Linked DNA regions of Homo sapiens: region 1 is linked to region 2. The links are contacts of gene promoters, found by promoter capture Hi-C in human tissues and cell types (Jung and others, 2019). All regions are on one chromosome and are shown on one strand. Each heading gives the region's core, a stretch centred on a gene start or on the middle of the fragment in contact. The rest is flanking DNA. Distances are from core to core; before and after follow the strand shown.

Region 1 (2,700 bases), core at 196-2,695, 540 kb before region 2:
GAACCATAATAAGATTATACCTGAGTTTTTACCAGAATAAAATGGAGGGCTGAAGATAGTGTGACAACTTACTTGAAGGACTGAAAGAAAAATGTTCAATCCAGAATGTTATATCCAGCAAGTCCATGTTTTTAAAATGAAGATGATGAAAGTGAGACATTACTACTGATTTTACAGAAATAAAAAGAATTAAAATAGAATACTATGAACACTGTACACCAATAAACTGAATAACCTAAAAGAAATGGACGAATTCCTAGAAATACACAATCTACCAAGATTGAACCTTGAAAAAATAGAAAATCTGAGTAGACCTATAACTAGTAAGGAGACTGAATTAGTAATCAAAAATCTCCCAACAAAGAAAAACTGTGGATCAGATGGCTTCACTGGTGAATTCTATCAAACATTTAAAGAATTAATACCAACTCTTCTCAAACTCTTTCAAACAATTCAAGAGGGGGAAACATTTCCTAACTCATTCTATAAGGCCAGCACTAGTCTATTACTAAAGCTAGACAAATACATTATAAGAAAAAACTACAGGTGCATATTCCTTATGAACATTGATGCAAAACTCCTCAGTCACATACTAGCAAAATGAATTTAGCAGCATATTAAAAGGATTATACCCAATGGCAAGTGGAATTTTTCTTTTAATGAAACTAGAGATGGGCTCTCACTGTATTGTCCAGGCTGGTCTTGAATTCCTGGACTCAAGTGATCCTCCTGCCTTGGCCTCCCAAAGTGCTGGGGTTGCAGGCATGGGCCACCATGCCCAGCTAATCAAGTGGAATTTATTCCCCAAAAGCAAGGATGATTCAATATACAAAAATCAATCAATGTAATATGCCACATTAATATAATGAAGGGGAAAAAATCACTTGATGATCTCAATTGATACAGAAAAGCATTTGACAAAATTCAACACCCTCTCACGATAAAAACACTCAATAAACTAGGAATAGAAGGAAACTTCTCCAATGTAATAAAGACCACATACGAAAAACCACCATCTAACATCATGCTCAATGATTTAAGACTAAAAGCTTTTCTCTCAAGATCAGGAACAAGACAAGGATGCTTACTTTCACCACTTCTATTCAACATTGTATTGGAAGTTCTGGCCAGAGCAATTAGACAAGAAAAAGAAACAAAAGGCATCCAAATTGGAAAAGAAGAAGTAAAATTATCTCTGTTTGCAGGTGCCATGATCCTATATTTAGAAAACCCCAAAGACTCCACCCTAAAACTCCCACAAAAGCCTGTTAGAGATAATAAACAAATTCAGAAAAGTTGAAGGATACAAAATCAACTTATAAAAATTAGTTGCATTTCTATAACTGTGAATGATCAAAAAGGAAATTAAGAAAACAATCCCATTTACAATAGCATCAAAAAGAATAAAACACTTGGGAATAAATTTAACCAAAGATGTGAAATACCTGCATACTGAAAACTGTACAACACTGCTTGATGAAATTAAAGAATACTTAAATAAATGGAAAGATATTCCATATTCGTGGATTGGAAGACTTAATATTATTAAGGTGACAATAATTATCCAAATTAACTCAATTCAATCCCTATCAAAACCCCAATGACTTTTTTTGGCAGATATAGAAAAACCGTCCTAAAATTCATTTGGAATCTGAAGCACCCCAAATAGCTAAAACAATCTTGAAAAAGAGAACAAAATTGGAAGACTCACACTTTCTGATTTGAAAATTTACTATAAAGCTATATTAATTAAAACAGCATGGTATTGGCATAATGACAGACATACAGACCAATGGAATAGAGAACCCAGAAATAAACCCTCTCATATATGGTCAAATGATTTTCAACAAGGATGCCAAGAGCATTCAATGGAGAAAGGACAGTCTTTCCAAAAAATAGTTCTGGGAAAAATGGATATCCACAAGCAAAAGAATAAAGGTAGAACTTTACCTTACATCATATACAAAAATTAACCCAAAATGTATCAAAAGCCCCATGTACGAGTTAAACTATAAAACTCTTAGAAGAAAACATAGGAGAATATCTTCATGATATTGGATTTGGCAATGATTTCTTGGATATGACACCAAAAGCACTGCCACAAAAGAAAAAAGTAGACAAACTGGACTTAATAAAAATTGGTAGCCTTTGTGCTATGAAGGACACTATCAAGAGAGTAAAAAGATACCCCACAGAATGGGAGAAAATATTTTCAAATCATATACCTGATAAGGGATTAATATCCAGAATATATAAAGAACTCCTACAACTCAAAAACAAAAGGACAATTCTATTTTAAATGGGCAAATAAATTTGTAAATAAACCTCTTCTCCAAAGAATATAAATAATGGCCAGTAAGCACATGAAAAGATGCTCAACATTGAGACACTCAATCATTAGGGTAATGCAAATTAAAACTAAAGTGAGATAACACTTCATACCCACCAAGATGGTTAATTAAAAAGAAACGAGCAGAACAGAAAATAACATGTATTGGAGAGGACATGAAGAAATTGGAATGTCGTGCCTTGCTGGTAGGAATGTCAAATGGTGCAGTGACTGTGGAAAACAGTATGACAATTCCTCAAAAAGTTAAACATAGAATTACCATATCATCCAGTAATTCTGCTTCTAGGTATATACCCAAAAGAAGTGAAAGCAGGGATTCAAACAGATACGTGTTCGTGTACCCAAAATCT
Region 2 (2,700 bases), core at 52-2,551:
GCTTAACACGGACCTGAACCTTTGCTCTTCCCTTGTTTTCCCTTATCAGTAAACAGCCCCACAGCCACCCACCTGCACAAGCCAGAAGCTTGGAAATCATATTCGACGTCCTCATGCCCTTACATCCATCCATTCCAAGTTCTGATACTTTTGTCTCCAAAATATTCCTCAAATATTTCTCAAAGTGGGCAAAATATTTCTTTGCTCACTTTTTACTTCCCTCTGCTCCAAGCCACAATCACCTGTCTCCTGGAAGACTACAAAAGGCTCACTGATCTCCCAGCTCGCACTTTTGCACTCACTATCTCCAGGCCATTCTCTGTTATTTCTATTGTTACTATTATTATTTTGAGACGGAGTCTCGCTCTGTCGCTCAGGCTGGAGAGCAGTGGCAAGATCTAGGCTCACCGCAATCTCCGCCTCCCAGGTCAAGCGATTGAACCTCCAGCCTCAGCCTCCCGAGTAGCCTATTATTTATTTCTAAAAGTAGGTGATACAGCCATATGATTTAACAATTCCTGCTCTATAGGTCCCCTCTCCAGAGGCAACAGGTGCTCTCCATTCCGTGGTCTCCTTCCAGATACTGTGGGCGTCCCTGGGTGCTCACCTGGCCGTATACCTTCCCCCACCCACTTCCCCACAGGGCCCGGGGCCTCCTCACTCCGCTTGAGACCCTCCATCCAGGCGCTCCCTCCCTATCGTCCGTCTCCCTTGGGCACTGCCCGGCCTCCCAGGCTGGGCTGAGTAGGCCAGTCTCCGGTCAGTGATTCTGTTCCAAAGCTCGAAAGCCTTCGCAGCACTGGGACTGAAACCCCCAGCTCTCAGCCCCGACTCCTTCAGGCCAGGTGCTCCCTCCGCACCCTCTCTAAGGCCCGTTTTCGCGTCATCTCTTTCCAGCGGCCCGCCCGCCACGTCATCTCTACCACAGCACCAGTCCTCCACGGCTCTTGACAATACGTGGGAGGGCAAGTTCATAGGTGAGGTCTCATGCTCTTCCTAGGAGGGAGGAGCGCGGCGGGCGGGACCCGCAGCTGGGCTTGGCCCGGGAGCGGGGAATAAGCTCGCTCCGCGCCTCTCAGTTTAGTGGATGAAGACTACTATCCCAGAAGCCGTTTCGCCTCGGGCTGGCGAGCTCCTCCCCGCCCTACTCCCTCCGCGCGAAGAAGACTGAGCATGCGCAACAGGGACAGCGCCTGCGCAAAAGACTACGCGAGCGGGTGGCTGGGTTCACTGCAACTCCCGGCAGGCCGCTGGCATTTTTCATTCCCTCCCGTGACCAGTGACTTCCGGCACGAAGGGGCGGGGCTGGGCTCGTGGCTGAGCCAGCAGCTGCAGCAGCTACGGGAGTGGCCGGGTGGCCGGCGGGTGCCAGCCGCCATGGAGGCCGTGCCCCGCATGCCCATGATCTGGCTGGACCTGAAGGAGGCCGGTGACTTTCACTTCCAGCCAGCTGTGAAGAAGGTGAGCTTGCCTTCCATCTTCCCCCCTATCCGCCGCGTATCTCCGTCGTCTGCAAGCGCGTGACGCCCCCCTGCGCGCCCATCACCTCCTCAGGCCCGGTCGCAGGGTCCGGTGAGGCCAGGAGGGGCCTTCGCCGGTTTTCCTCAGCCTGTCCCACACCCCGGCGCCCGCAGGCCATTCTTCTCCTCCCCGATAGCCCCGTGCTAGCACCTGCATCTTCATCTGAACCCGGTTCCCGACTTCTGCCCCGAGTCATCCGCTGTTCCCACTGAGGCAGCACACTTCCTCCTTCTGACGCTCGGACCCAGTTCTGCCCCGCCCCTCCTCCATGCCAGGACCGCCCCGCGCGGGAGCGGTGGGCGGCCCTGACCGTGCGGATTCTTTTGCTGCGCCCGGCCCTCGGTGCGCTGTCAAGTCCACGCCCGCCTGGGACAGACACTGGGGATGGCTCAGGGGCGTGTGTTTAAGACGTGAGCCCCGGTGGCCCAGGGAGATGCCCGACCCCTGCGGTGAGGGTTTGTTTTACAATTGCTGCGATTCTGTATGGTCTCCCATTCGGGAGTCTCTTTGGACCAAACAATACAATCCCACGACATTTTTAGGAGGGTTACTGCTTTTCGTAACCGACTGGAGGGCATAAACAGTGTTGTAGAGCTCAGAGAAATCTTACTGTGTTGGAAGAACAGACGGGCAGGTTTGGCGTTGACTAAGGCAAGGAACTTCTGTGGAGAGGTTCAGGTGTGGTGATTGAACACAGGTGCCCTCCGAGACATCCGCTGTATTGGTAGCACTGAGGGCTAGAGCAGAAATGAAAAGGAACAACCAGGAGGCCGTCGCAGGTGGGGGGCCTTGTGGGCTTAGCACAGCAGATGCCAGAGTAAGCCCCAATCTAGATGGTGCACCACTTAGCGAGACGCTTGGGAAGACAAATAGGAAAAAGAAAATGGGTTTGGAAGTAGTTTCCCAAGAAGCTGTCTCCCCTCTAATCGCCATACACCATTGCCTTAGTTCAGACAGTGTTTGAGTCCATCATCTAGCCTCTTGGGGCCAGGAAATGAGGGTAATTGATCCAAAATTCTAGAATTTTGTTAACGGTTATCCAGACGTTGCTCTCTTCTTCATCTGCTGTTTCTTTTTCCTACCTTTTTTTTTTTTTTTGAGACGGAGTTTCGCTCTTGTTGCCCAGGCTGGAGTGCAATGGCACGATCTCGGCTCACCGCAACGTCAGCCTCCCGGGTT

Evidence for each region. Contacts are between HindIII fragments. The study calls those that stand out against the background at their distance.
Region 1: a fragment that was not itself captured here is called in contact with the fragment with the promoter of PTPN23 in region 2 in 2 of the 25 tissues and cell types used here (lymphoblastoid cells and mesendoderm cells).

The regions. Positions count from the first base shown.
Region 1 is chr3:46,840,675-46,843,374 of GRCh38, forward strand. No RefSeq gene overlaps it. Among named protein-coding and RNA genes, the nearest start is that of MYL3, 21 kb to the right of the region's middle. The HindIII fragment of the contact is 6,369 bases long and covers 1-2,700 here.
Region 2 is chr3:47,379,720-47,382,419 of GRCh38, forward strand. PTPN23 (protein tyrosine phosphatase non-receptor type 23) reads left to right here and starts at 1,302. Exons shown (of 25, transcript NM_015466.4): 1 at 1,302-1,461. The coding sequence starts at 1,378. PTPN23-DT (PTPN23 divergent transcript) reads right to left here and starts at 1,773. Exons shown (of 1, transcript NR_185912.1): 1 at 1-1,773. RefSeq lists enhancers at 688-1,365, 875-934, 1,105-1,324, 1,366-2,041. The HindIII fragment of the contact is 13,956 bases long and covers 1-2,700 here.